4 separate regions of the Homo sapiens genome follow, and regions 2, 3 and 4 are each linked to region 1. Evidence: promoter capture Hi-C in human tissues and cell types (Jung and others, 2019). All regions are on one chromosome and are shown on one strand. Each heading gives the region's core, a stretch centred on a gene start or on the middle of the fragment in contact. The rest is flanking DNA. Distances are from core to core; before and after follow the strand shown.

Evidence for each region. The method cuts DNA at HindIII sites, captures the fragments that hold promoters and counts their contacts. A contact is called where the count stands out against the background at its distance.
Region 2: a contact is called between the fragment with the promoter of CASP14 here and the fragment with the promoter of RASAL3 in region 1, in 2 of the 25 tissues and cell types used here (IMR-90 fibroblasts and heart left ventricle).
Region 3: the fragment with the promoter of OR1I1 here is called in contact with the fragment with the promoter of RASAL3 in region 1 in 3 of the 25 tissues and cell types used here (heart left ventricle, heart right ventricle and small bowel).
Region 4: a contact is called between a fragment that was not itself captured here and the fragment with the promoter of RASAL3 in region 1, in 2 of the 25 tissues and cell types used here (aorta and heart left ventricle).

What each region holds. Positions count from the first base shown.
Region 1 is chr19:15,462,747-15,466,483 of GRCh38, forward strand. It overlaps RASAL3 (RAS protein activator like 3), which reads right to left and starts at 1,798. Exons shown (of 18, transcript NM_022904.3): 1 at 1,759-1,798; 2 at 1,285-1,631. The coding sequence starts at 1,612. RefSeq lists enhancers at 1,022-1,161, 1,262-1,391, 2,032-2,141. The HindIII fragment of the contact is 13,394 bases long and covers 1-3,737 here.
Region 2 is chr19:15,047,408-15,051,144 of GRCh38, forward strand. CASP14 (caspase 14) reads left to right here and starts at 2,073. Exons shown (of 7, transcript NM_012114.3): 1 at 2,073-2,238. The HindIII fragment of the contact is 29,360 bases long and covers 1-3,737 here.
Region 3 is chr19:15,080,180-15,083,916 of GRCh38, forward strand. OR1I1 (olfactory receptor family 1 subfamily I member 1) reads left to right here and starts at 2,032. Exons shown (of 2, transcript NM_001004713.2): 1 at 2,032-2,097. The HindIII fragment of the contact is 16,029 bases long and covers 41-3,737 here.
Region 4 is chr19:15,188,485-15,191,263 of GRCh38, forward strand. It overlaps NOTCH3 (notch receptor 3), which reads right to left. Exons shown (of 33, transcript NM_000435.3): 7 at 789-944; 8 at 505-690. Among named protein-coding and RNA genes, the nearest start is that of MIR6795, 11 kb to the left of the region's middle. The HindIII fragment of the contact is 6,552 bases long and covers 1-2,779 here.

The DNA of each region.
Region 1 (3,737 bases), core at 548-3,047:
TCGAGACCATTCTGGTTAACACAGTGAAACCCTGTCTCTACTAGAAATACAACAATTAGCTGGGCATGGTGGCGGGTTCCTGTAGTCCCAGCTGCTCAGGAGGCTGAGGCAGGAGAATGGCGTGAACCCAGGAGGCGGAGCTTGCGGTGAGCCGAGATCGCGCCACTGCACTCCAGCCTGGGCAACAGAGCGAGACTCCATCTCAAAAAAAAAATAAAAAAAATGCTGGGCCCTAGGCTAGTGTTACATTCCTGAGCCCTAATTCTTGTGATATCCATTACTCTTCTAGATCCCCCTGTGTGACACTTAGCACCATCTGTCATTTTTTTTCTTTCTTTTTTTTTTTTTTCTTCCATTGAGATGGAGTCTCCCTCTGTCGCCCAGGCGGGAGTGCAGTAGTGCAATCTCAGCTCACTGCAACCTCCACCTCCCGGGTTCAAGCGATTATCCTGCCTCAGCCTCCTGAGTAGCTGGGAGTACAGGTATGTGCCACCATGCCTAGATACTTTTTTTTTTTTGTATTTTTAGTAGAAACAGGGTTTTGCCATGTTGGCCAGGCTGGTCTCGAACTCCTGAGCTCAGGTGATCCACCCACCTTGGCCTCCCAAAGTGCTGGGATTACAGGTGTGAGCCATCATGCCTGGCCCATCTGTCATTTTCTTGTTGATGGATTTCCTGTCAATTCCACTACACTGTGAGCTCCATGGGGCAGGGAGGGTCATCTGTCTCTTTCACTAGTGTGTCCTCAGTGCCTAAATCAGGGCCTGGCACATACAATAGAAGCTCAACAAACCTCTGCTTGAATAAATGAATGAATATGAGCAAATAAAATTATATACTCTCCAAAATGGAGATCATTATTCTCACTGAACTGATGGAGAGGCTGAGGCTTAAGGGCTCAGAACAAAGACACGGAAGCTAGAAGGTAGGAGAGTAGGAGGCAGGCTGAAGATGGATATCCAGGTAGGAAAGGATGGGCCTGAGCCATTGAAGGAGAGACCCGTTGGGGCCAAGAGCCGTTTAGCCTCTGGACAATACTATCACGGGTTTACATTCACTGTTCCTTCCTCAGATGGACCCTCTGCCCACAGGACCCCGGCAACTCCTCCTACCCTCTTTAGGGGGAAAGAGGGAACAGGGTAGCTGGGCCCCAGCGGCTTCCTGCTGGGCTTTTGCACTCCCCACAACTTCCTGTGTCTGTATGGTTGATGCTCCGGAGGCAGACAAAACCCAAGCATCCGGCTTCCCAGCCCGGCCCAAGCTCAGGGTGGGGGAACCATGTACCTGGGGCCTCCTGCTCCGGCTCCGGGTCTGGCTCCGGCGGTGGGTTCTTATGCCTCCCCCAGAGGGCCTTGGAGAGTCGAAGGCGACTGGTCCGTGACTCCTTGGGAGGCGCAGATAGGACCCGACGGAATATCGAGCGAGGGGCTGGCTGGGTGCTGACCATGGGCTCCTGGTGGCTCAGGGCCCTGCCCCAGCCAGCAAAGCGGCCCCAGCGGAACCCTCCAGCCGCCTTCTCCCCACCGCCCCCTGTGTGCCAGCGGTAGGAAGTCAGCGGAGAGGTGGCTGTGGGCTGGGTTTGGGAGGTCCGGCTTGGCGACGGTGGGTCCATGGTTGGGGGGGGGGGTCTCCTGGGGGACGAGAGAGTGACAGTAGTGCCCAGTGTCTGTCCACATACTGCCCTCATCTCGGCCCCCTCCCCACCCTCAGCTCTGCCTCCAGGAATCCCCCTGCCCCCACCTCCACTCCCTCCCTTACCTTGGTTTCCTGACCAGCCCCAGAATCAGCAGCCGTCTGCACCCCGCCTGGCTTCCTCCCTCGGAACCCAACTCCACGTGACCCTCTCTGTCCCACCCCACCCCACAGCCAGGCTGGGAGGGCACAGTGCGGGCAGGTTGCTGGAGGTTCGAGGGAGGAGAAGAGAGGAGGTGGGTTACCAGGCTTCTAGCAAGAAGGACCCAGACTGCCTCCCTGACGGGGAGGCAGCACTTGCCCCTCTCTCTGAGCCTCCGTTGCCTTCTCTGCAAAATGAGTACAGGCTGAACAAATGCTGGCGAGAATACAAAGCACCTAGAACTCTAATCCACAGTTGGCCGGAGTGTAGACCCATTCACTCATGTTGGGAAACGGTTTGGCAGGATCTACTAACACTACTAGCTGGATCTTCTCTGACTCAGCAATTCCATTGCTAGGTAGACGTCCAATAGATATGCCCCCCCAGCACAATGCATAATAGCCCCACATTGGAAGCAGCCTAAGTACCCATTAGTGGGAGAAGGAATAAATTGTGATCTCTTCGCACAGCAGAATATCATACAGCAGTGAGAACAAACTAAAGAATGATTTAACTTGGGTGAATCACAAACAATGTTGAGCCAAAACCAAAACCAAAGCCATAAAATGCCAGTAATCTGAGCTATTCAGGAGGCTGAGGGAGGAGGATCGCTTGAGGCCAGGAGTTCGAGGCTGCAGTGAGCTGTGATCATGCCTGTGAATAGGCAGTGCACTCCAGTCTGGGTGACATAGGGAGACCTCATATCTAACTTTTTTTTTTCTTTTTCCCCTCCCTGCCCTCGGGAGACCCCATCTCTAAAAAGCAATAATAAATAAATTTAAAAACCCCAAAACAATGAAGAGTATACACTTTGTGATTCCATTTACATAAAGTCCTAAAGCAGGCAAAACCATGTCTAACAAGCAGGGTATCAGTTTCTTTTGGAGGCACTGGTGGCTGGGAAGAGGGTACAAGGGGGGCTTCTGGAAGATGGCAAGATTTATTATTACTCTTATTATTATTAATTGATTTATTTATCGAGAAGGAGTTTCGCTCTGTCTCCCAGGCTGGTGTGCAGTGGCACGATCTTGGCTCACTGCAATCTCTGCCTCCCGGATTCAAGTGATTCTCCCTACTCAGCCTCCTGAGTAGCTGGGACTACAGGTATTCACCACCATGCCTGCCTAATTTTTTTGTATTTTTAGTAGAGACGGGGTTTCACCATGTTGGTCAGGCTGGTCTTGAACTCCTGACCTGAAATGATCTGCCCGCCTTGGCCTCCCAAAGTGCTGGTATTATAGGCGTAAGCCACCGTGCCCGGCCCTTATTATTATTATTATTTATAAATGAGGTCTATAAAAATAATATAGATCTCATAAAATAAAAATATAATATTTATATTACATAGTAATATAAATAATATTACATTATACATAATATGAATATTATTATTTTTTGTAGATGAGGTCTGTCATCCAGGCTGGAGTGCAGTGGTGCCATCATAGCTCTCTGTAACCTCTAACTCCTGGGCTCAAGAGATCCTCTCGCCTTAGCCTCCTGAGTAGCTGGGACTACAGCTGCATGCCACCACACCTGGCTTATTAAAAACAATTTTTTTGTTGTTGTTGAGATGAGGGTCTTGCTTTGTTGCCCAGGCTGTTCTTGAACTCCTGGCCTCAAGTGATCCTCCCACCTCAGCCCCCTAAGTAGCTGGGATAATAGGCACATGCTACCATGCCTGGCCTATTTTTTTTTTAATTGAGGTAAAATTCATATAACACAAATTTAGCATGTTCTTTTTTTTTTAATAAGATTTTTTTTTGAGACAGGGTCTTGCTCTGTTGGCCAAGCTGGAGTGCAGTGGCACAATCACAGCTCACTGCATTCTCAACCTCCTGGGCTCAAGCGATCCTCCTACCTCAGGCTCTCGAGTAGCTGGGACTACAGGTGCATGCTACCTGAC
Region 2 (3,737 bases), core at 823-3,322, 420 kb before region 1:
ATATCCAGAACAGGGAAACCTGCAGAGACAGAAACTCGGCTAGTGGTTGCCTAAGGCTGGGATGTATGGAGAGATTGGGAGTGATAGCTAAAGGGTACTGGGATTCTTTTGGGGGGTGATAAAAATGTTCTAAAATGAGCCAGGTGTGGTGGCCCGCGCCTGTAATCTCACACTTTGGGAGGCCGAGTGGGGAGGATCCCTTGAGGCCAGAAGTTCGAGACCAGCCTGGGCAACACAGCAAGACTTTGTCTCTACAAAAAATCTTGAGGAAAAAAGTAGCAAGGCATGTACGTGCACACCTGTAGTCCCAGCTGCCCAGGAGGCTGAGGTGGAAGGATCGAATAAGCCCAGGAGTTTTAAGCTGCAGTGAGCTGTGATCGCTCCACTGCACTCCAGCCTGGGTGACAGATCTTATCTCCGAAAAAAGAAAAAACAAAATGTTCCAAAATGAACTGACGCAATGGTTGCATCACTGTGAATATATTGAAACCCACTGGATTGCACACTTCAGGTGGGTGAATTGTATAATACGTAAATTATATCTCATTTAAGCTGTTGCTATCGAACCGAGTTTGTTCTTCCTCTGTGCAGCAAGCCAATCAATGTAATGACAGATTTTGCAGAAGAGGAAGAGTTCGTTCATGAGGCAATTAAGCGACGAGGTGGTAAAACAGGTCTCAAATTCTCCTCCCCAAAAATAGGGTTTGAGGGTGCTTATGGGATAGAAAACGGGGTGATCTAAAGTACGGAGAAAGGTGACTGGCAGGTAGGGAAGGTGAGGTAATCAGAATTTCTGAGCAAGCATGGTTGAGCTACATGGCTTTAGATAGGACATTTGTGCAAAAAATAGCATTTAGCATGATCTGAAGGTGGAGTTTACGGCCCTCTGATATCAGCTACCCACATAGGTGCAGTTGAAGGGTCAGTGATCTCCACTGGCTTAAACTAAACAAGAGCTGCCTCCTACCTAGTTCCTGAAAAACAACTTTAAGCACCCATTACTATAGTGTCCCACAGACAAAAATGTTATCTGTAAGGAAGCCAGTGGGAGTTTAGTTATGCATTATTTGGCTACGTGACTTGCTAGTGGCGCTTTTAAGATCAACTATAAGTAAGCAATTAAAAGTAAGTAAGCAATTAAACGCAAGGCAGATTAAGTCTGGAGGGCTTAATCAGGTTCGCCTTTGGTTTCACTATTAACATAAGAAATAAAATGAAACAAAATGGCTGAAAAATAATAAGAGGAGGAGGAAGAGAGGAATCATCATGATGCATCAGTTAAGGCAACTGGGCTGGAACATTTTAGGGGTTGTTTGTTTGTTTTTATATTTAAGACAGAGTCTTGCTCTGTCACCCAGGCTGGAGTGCAGAGGCACAATCTTAGCTCGCTGCAGCCTCAAACTCCTAGGCTCAAGCCAGCCTCCTACCTCAGCCTCCTGAGTAGCTAGGACTATAGGTATATGCCATCATTTTTATTATTATTATTATTTTAGTGACAGGGTCTCACTATGCCCCGGCTGGTCTCAAACTCCTCACCTCAAGCGATCCTCCTGCCTTGGCCTCCCAAAGCGCTGGGACTACAGACGTGACCCACCACACCTCACCCCTTATAGGGTTGAATGCCAACTGTGCCAATTGCTGACCTTGGGCAGTCATTTCACCTCTATGAGCCTCAGTTTCTCCATCTGCAAAATGGGAGCAAAAATACTGATCTGTCTAGACTCTTGAAGACTCGATGAGATAATAACTAAGTGAAGTCGGTGTTATCTACACAGTGGAAGGTGAGATGAATAAACTAGGCATAATGATGATGGTAATAACCAGATGGGCTGGCTATGGGATGGGGGTTGGGAGAGGTTGTGGCTGGGCTGGCACAGACATCTGACTCATTTAGACTCTCTGCCTAGGCCACCTTTGCCAGAGGGAGTCCCCTCAGCCTTGCGATCACTCATCCCATTGGCGTTGGCTCCATTTCCACACCACAGCTGTGTGCCAAGGGTGTGTCATGAGGTTTCTTGAGTGACAGAAAACTCACCGACAATAAAGGGCCAGGTGATTGTGCCACCCGATTCATAGACCAGGCTTCTCAGGAGAAACCCCGGGAGATTCCACACTGTCAGCCCCTTCTCCAAGATCAGTACGTGGGCCTGACTCCTCCTCGGTGCCCAGCTCAGTATTGGCAACTAGGAGAGTAGTGAGATTGAACTTGGCCTTGAGGAACAGCTGCCTCTAGAGTTGGTAAGTGATTTGGTGGATATTAGCCTCTCTCTCTCTCTCTCTCTCTCTCTCTCACACACACACACACACACACACACACACACACACGCACATACACACATACGCTCCCTCTCCCTTCATGAATTAATGCTCTGGCCAGTTTTGGCAGAATGGAAGAAATTTCCATCCATCCCCTCTTTCTTTTCATCTGTTCATTTTTTTCTTATTTGTTTACTCAGCAAATTCTCTCCAACACCACCTCTGTGCTCCCTGCCACACTGTTGGCCATGATGGAGACAGAGATAATGAAGTCAGGCTTTCAGTCCTGAAAACTGAGCTGCCAGTTCAGCCATGAGAGTAAGAATCAAAAACACTGCTGTAATTCAAGTAGGAGCAAGCAGAGCTGTGAGAGTCCAGAGAAGGAAGAGGAAAGTTCCAGGAGGTCAAGAGGGATCCTAAAACCTACCTGGGTCACCATTGCTGTTAAGCACCTAGAGCTCTCCCCAGGTCCTTTGCGGATGGGAAAATCGAGTCTCAGAGAGGAGAGTGAGATGCCGAAGGTCACACAGCTGGGAAGGGACTGAGGCAGGATTCGGTTCTGGCTCCAGGGCTATGCTCCTTCCACTTCCTCCCTCACAATCTTTGGCTCCTCTTTCGTCACAGCACTTGCTGTGTGTGTGTGTGAGTGTGTGTGTGTGAGAGAGAGAGAGAGAGAGAGAGATTTAATATTCATTTCTGTCACAGACTAGAGCTACAGAAGGACAGAAAGTCAGGGAGCATGTCTGTCTTACTTAATGGATTCTAAGTGCATAACACATAATAGATACCCAGAAAATATTTGCTGGGTAGGTGGGTGGGTGGGTGGATGGATTGATGGATGGATGGATGGATGGGTGGGTGGGTAGATGGATAAGTAAATAGGTGGATGGATAGATGGAAGATAGAGATGATGGATGAAGGAATGGATAGAAGGAGGGCTAGATGGAGGGATAGTTGGAAGATAGAATAGATGGAGGGATGGAAGACAGAGAGAGATAATGGATGAATGGATGGATGGATGGATGAATGAATGAGTGGTTGGATGAATAAGTGGATGGATAGATAGATGGATGGGTAGATAAATGGGTTGATGGAAGAATGAATGGGTATATGGGATGACTGATTAATAGATGGGTAGACAGACGGATGAATAGATGTGTGAGTGGGTGGATGGATGGATGGATGAGTGGATAGATAGGTAAGTGGAAAGATAAATTGGTGGATGGGTTGATGAATAAAAGGATGGATGTTAAATTGGATTGATGGATGACTAGATAGATGTGCGGGTGGAAGGATGGGTGGATGGGATGACTGATTAATAGATAAGTAGATGGACAGATGAATAGATGGAAGGGTGAGTGGGTGAATGGATGGATAGATGATGAATTAATGGATAGATGGTAGATGGATAGATGAATGAATTGATGGGTGACTGGATAGATAGATGGATAAAAACATAGATGAATGGATGGTTGATGGGG
Region 3 (3,737 bases), core at 782-3,281, 380 kb before region 1:
TGTCCTACCTACCATGGCTTTGGGCAAAATAATTTTTTTTCAGAACCACGGACAGTGGCAAAAGTTTGTTCACCCAGTGGGACTTTTTTTTTTTTTTTTTTTTGAGATGGAGTCTTGCTCTGTCACCCAGGCTGGAGTGCAGTGGCACAATCTCGGCTCACTGCAATCTTCGCCTCCCAGGTTCAAGTGATTCTCCTGCCTCAGCCTCCCAAGTAGCTAGGATTACAGATGCCCACCCACCATGCCCAGCTAATTTTTGTACTTTTAGTAGAGACTGGGTTTCACCATTTTTCCCAGGCTGGTCTCGAACTCCCGACCTCAAGTGATCCACCCGCCTCAGCCTCCCAAAGTGCTGGGATTACAGGTGTGAGCCACCATGTCTGGCCACCTTATGGACTTTTTAGGTGGGTTTTTCCCCAACCTTTGGGCTCAAATTGATTTTTTTTTTTTTTTTGAGACAAGGTCTCACTCTGTCACCCAGGCTGGAGTGCAGTGGCATGATCTCAACTTGCTGCAAACTTCACCTCCCGGGCTCAAGGGATCCTCCCACCTCAGCCTCCTGAGTAGTTGGGACTATAGGCACGTCCAGCTAATTTTGTATTTTTAGTAGAGACAGGGTTTCACCATGTTGGCCGGGCTGGTCTCAAACTCCTGAGCTAAATTGATCCACCTGCCTCGGCCTCCCAAAGTGCTAGGATTACAGGTGTGAACCACCATGCCCAGCCTCTGAAAATAATTTTAATTTTAAAAAAATAATGACAGTGGGATTGGCACCTACTCATATCCCCATATGTCCAACGCGAAGTTGGTCTACCTTGTTCTTGCTTTGAAGCTGACCTCCCCACAGAGTTACGATCCAAGAGCCAACAGTCCAACAGCCAATATTATTAGGGAAAGTAATTCTAATATTTACTAAAGCCCCTAGGAGAATTTCAACAAGTATCCTACACACGTTCTGTGTGGCTGATAGGAAGGATTTTTTTTTTAAGAGACAGGGTCTCACTCCGTTGTCCAGGTTGGAATGCAGTGGTGCGATCACAGCTCACTGCAGCCTCAACCTCCAGGGCTCAAGTGATCCTCCCACCTCAGCCTCCTGGGTAACTGAGACCACGGGCATGTGCCACCAATCCTGGCTAATTTTTTTAAATTTTTTGTAGATATAAGGTCTTGCTGTTTTGCCCAAGCTGGTCTCAAACTTCTAGGCTCAAGGGATTCTCCAACCTTGGCCTCCCAAGTAGCTAGGATTATAGGCATGAGCCACCGTGTCCAACTCCAGTGCCAAGCAGGTGATCAAGAAGTGTTTGATAGGCCGGGTACAGTGGCTCAGGCCTGTAATCCCAGCACTTTGGGAGACCGAGGAGAGCAGATCACTTGAGGTTTGAGATCAGTCTTTCCAACATGGTGAAACCCTGTCTCTACTAAAAATACAAAGACTAGCTGGGCATGGTGGTGGGCACCAGTAATTCCAGCTACTCAAGAGGCTGAGGAGGGAGAATTGCTAGAACCCAGGAGGTGGAGGTTGCAGTGAGCCGAGATTGCTCCACTGTGCTCCAGGCTGGGTGAAAGAGTGACACTCCATCTCAAAAAAAAGTGTTTGATAAATTTATTTATTTAATACCGATTTATTGATTGATTGATACTCTTCGGAGCTTTCCTTAATGAGCCAGTTTCTTCCATAATGCAATGAATGAAAGGACCTCTCAGATTCAGGCATCTGAGTGCCCGACTGGAGTCTGGGACCCCCCAGACCTCTCTGCCTGGGAGCTTCCATGAAGCTCAGCCTGAGCTGGAAGGAGACCGTAGGGAGATGTCCTAGTGAGAGTGAATCCCTAGTCACTGTTTCCTCTTCTTACCCACTCGATGATCCCAAAGCACACCCATCTCCAAAAGAACAGGTCACATGTGGCAGAGGAGAAACAAAATAATTAGCATCCGCTTCCTTAACAAGGAGCTATGGGGACGAAGTCTCCTAGAGTCCCCAGACTATAAATACCCTGATGTTCCCCTGGCTCCCCCACTCACCTGCAGAGTCTGGGGGCGGGGGGGTACACATATGAATCCTTCCCATAGACATCAGGCTAACCCCAGCGATCACAGGTGAGTAGCCCCCATGCCCTTCCTAGGGGTTTAGTGCTGACCTCGGGATCCTCTAGCAGTTGGTGGAGAAGGAGGCTTCCCGGGACCCTCCCCTTGGTGATGCCATCCTGGTGAGCAGGTGAGGGATGGGGAAAGGATTGAGCTGAGGGTGGGGGTGGAGGGTTGTGGGAGAGGAATCTGTCTCCTTCCTAGAGGCCGAGAGAGAGAGAAGAGACTGAGACCAAGTCTAGACTCTCTGAGTGGACAAAGCACGCAGACGGCAGACCCTCTGTGGCAGGATATGTGGAGGAAAAGCACTGAGGGTCTGCAGCTGCAGGACACCTGCACAGATAGGAGAGGTCTTGAGAAACAAGTTTCTCCAATGCAGCAGCTCCCCAAGTGTGGTCCCTGGGCTAGAAGCACCAGCATCCTCTGGAAACTATCTAGAAGTGCTGGTTCTTACACCAGACATTTCAGGGAAAGGGCTTAGCTTTTTGTGTATGATGAGTTTGGGAGCGGGGGGGAGGGGGCGGGGGGATTGTTTTGTTTGTTTGTTTGTTCTTTCTGTTTTTGAGACAGGGTCTCGCTCTGTTGCCCAGTCTGGAGTGCAGTGGCATTATCATAGCTCATCGCAGCCTCGACCTCCCAAGCTCAAGTGATCCTCCCTCCTCAGCCTCCCGGGTACCTGGGATAACAGACATATACCACCATGCCTGGCTAATTTTATTTTCGTAGAGGCAGGGATCTTCCTATGTTGCCCAGGATGGTCTCACACTCCCGGGCTCAAGAGATCCTCCTACCTTGGCCCCCCAAGCAGCTGGGACTAACAGGTGTGTGCCACCATGTCCAGCTAATTTTTTATTTTGTAGAGATGGGGGTCTCACTGTGTTGCCCAGGTTGGTCTCTAACTCCTGGACTCAAGGGATTCTCCCACCTCAGCCTTCTGAGTAGCTGGGACTATGGAAGCATGCCACCATGCCCAGCAGATTGTTTTATTTTTTGTAGATCCAGGGCGGGATTGGGGGTGGGGTGGCCTCACTTTGTCTGCCAGGCTGGTCTTGAACTCCTGGCCTCAAGCAATTCTCCCACTTCAGCCTCCCAAAGTGCTGGGATTACAGGTGTGAGCCACCATGCCTGGCCCGCTTTTTGTGTTTTAACAAGCCTTCCAGGTGACCCTGAAGCGTGCTCAAGGTTGAGAACCGCTGCTCTATGCAACCCAAGTCAACAACTGAGGACTGTTACAAATATGTTGCCAGGAAGGGAATCGCAGTATTCTATCCAGCCTAGAGAAAACCAAGCATTGCATTGCAAAAACCTCAAGTCCAACACTAAAAAGCCTCAAAAAGTTAACATAGGGCTTTGCTGAAGGCCTCTTGGGGTTACCAAGGAGATTATGCTGCTAACCTTCCTAAAAACCCCTTTCATCGGCTGGGCGCTGAAATGATGAGATTACTGGGCTCACGCCTGTAATCTCAGTACTTTGGGAGGCCAAGGTGGGCGGATCACCGGGTCAGGAGTTCAAGACCAGCCTGGCCAACAGGCTTAGTAGAGGCGAAACCCCGTCTCTACTAAAAATACAAAAATTAATCGGGCGTGGTGATGCACACCTGTAATCCCAGCTATTCGGGTGGCTGAGGCACAAGAATCACTTGAACCCAGGA
Region 4 (2,779 bases), core at 1-2,500, 270 kb before region 1:
ACCTTAATTTTCAGCCACAGGCTGGACTGTCACCCAGCCGTGGTCCCAACTGGCCCAAGGCTCATGGGTGTCCGCAGAGGCCTTGCCTTCAAACCCCTCCTCCTCTCCCCAGTCCTCAGACTAAGCCCTTTCCCCAGTCCCCAGCCCCCAGCCCCAGGGCCCCCCATAGCCTTTGCCCAGGCTTACTGCAAGCTTGTCTGCAGGCTTCACCTTGACCTCACAGCAGCCCCGACTCTGCCTCTCTATCCCCAACCCCTTCCCGAGTGGGTCCTAAGGCCAAGAATACTCCCAGCCCACCTGAGGTTCTACTGACTCCATTTGACCAAGCCCCCAGAATCACACAGTATTCCCTTCTGGTCCTGACCCCACCTCCTTCCAGGCTTCAGTCTCTAAGGGTCCCACTCCAAACCCACTTACACCCCATTCTGCTCAGCTCCCCATCCGCGGGCTTCTCTGTCCCCGCCCCCTGCCTCAGGACCCGCCCAGGCCACGCCCACCACCCACCTGCCATACAGATACAGGTGAACTGGCCTATGCGGTCGAGGCACGTGGCCTGGTTTCGGCAGGGCCCCGACAGACACTCGTTGACATCGGTCTCACAGCGAGGTCCAGTGTAGCCACGACCGCACTGGCACAGGAAGGAGCCCTGCGTGTTCACGCACCTGCCCAAGTGCTCGCAGGGGTTGGCGCCTGCCGGATGGAGTGCGATCGGTGTGGGCGTGGCTGGCCGGGACCCCCTCCTCTCCCCTCTTTCCCAGCCCATTCACAGACGATGGAGCTCCCCTCACCGATAGAGCACTCGTCCACATCCTGGTCACATGCCCCACCCGTGAAGCCGGGAGGACAGGTGCAAATGGCCCGGCCGTTCACCGGATTTGTGTCACAGATAGCATCCTCGTGGCAGGGGTTGCTGACACAGGCGTCATCCAGGTGACACAGGAGGCCTGGGAAGTGGTAAGCAGAAGTCATAGGCAGATCTTCCTGCTCTGCCCAAAAGGCCCACACCCCTTGAGTATTGTTTTGTCGTTGTTGTTGTTTTGTTTTGTTTTTTGAGACGAAGTTTCGCTCTTGTTGCCCAAGCTGGAGTACAATAGCGCGATCTTGGCTCACTGTAACCTCCACCTCCCAGGTTCAAGCGATTCTCCTGCTCAGCCTCCCGAGTAGCTGGGATTACAGGCATGTGCCACCACGCCCGGCTAATTTTTTGTATTTTTAGTAGAAACGGGGTTTCACCAAGTTAGCCAGGTTGGTCTCAAACTCCTGACCTCAGGTGATCTGCCTGCCTCAGCCTCCCAAAGTGCTGGGATTACAGGCGTGAGCCACCGCGCCCGGCCTGTTGTTTTTATTAAACCTAAACAGTATTTAGTAGCTGCTTTTTTAATCCATTTATTATGAGAACTATCAAACATACAGAAAAGTTGACCATTCATATACCCACCACCTAGATTCAACTATTGTTAGCTTAATCTACCAATCTTCTTTTCTAAACCATTTAAAAATAAATTGCAGACCGGGCACAGTGGCTCACGTCTATAATCCTAGCACTTTGGGAGGCCAAGGTGAGTGCATCGCTTGAGTTCAAGAGTTCAAGACCAGCCTGGGCAATATAGTGAGACCCGTCTCTACAAAAAATACAAAGCTTAGCCGGGCATGGTGGCGCACGCCTGTAATCCCAGCTACTTGGGGGACTGAGGTGGGAGGATCACTTGAGCCCAGGAAGTCGAGGCTGCAGTGAGCTGAGATCATGCCACTGTACTCCAGCCTGGGTGACAAAGTGAGACTCTGTCTCAAAAATAAAATAAAATAAATTGCAAACATCCACATATTGTTTTAAAACCTTTTGACTCTTCTGATTACAAAAGGGTCCTACACTCCAGCCTTTGCTTCTGTAATACCCTCTGCCATGTATGCCCTCTTTCTATATCCACGTTCCCCTCCTAAACATGTTCTCTGATCTTTGCCACTTCCAAAGGTAACTCCCAGGAGTTCCCCATTCCAATGGCTTCTGCCCTGAGCCATGCATCAGTGCAATGTCAGCCTCCTCCCAAGCCTCTCCCAGGCTTACACTTCCCCACTAAAGCTGCCTCCAGCATCATCTTTTTTTCTCTCTCTTTTTTGTTATACACGGTCTTACACTGTCTCCCAGGCTGGAACGCAGTGGCTCAGTCTCAGCTCACTGCAACCTCCACCTTCTGGGCTCAAGCCATCCTTCAACCTTAGCATCCAGAGTAGCTGGGACTACAGGCATGCGCTACCATGCCCAGCTAATTTTTTGTATTTTTGGTAGAGATAGGGTTTTGCCATGTTGCCCAGGCTGGTCTCAAACTGCTGAGCTCAAGCAATCTACCCGCCTGGGCCTCCCAATGTGTTGGGGTTACAGGCGTGAGCCACCACACCCAGCCTACCAAGTTTTTGTAGAGATGACAAAAACTCACTATGTTGTCCAGGCTGGTCTCAAAGTCCTGGGCCCAAGCGATCCTCCCATCTTGGCCTCCCAAAGTGCTGGGATTACAGGCATGAGCCACTGTGCCCGGCCTAGCATAATCTTTTTTTTATTTTTTAAATTTGAGAAGGAGTCTCACTCTGTCACCCAGGCTAGAGTGCAGTGGTGCAATCTTGGCTCACTGCAATCTCCACCTCCTGGGTTCAAGCTACTCTCGTGCCTTAGCCTCCTGAGAGACTTGGATTACAGGTGTGCACCACCACGCGCAGCTAATTTTTGTGTTTTTAGTAGAGATGGGGTTTCACCATATTGACCAGGCTGGTCTCAAACTCCTGA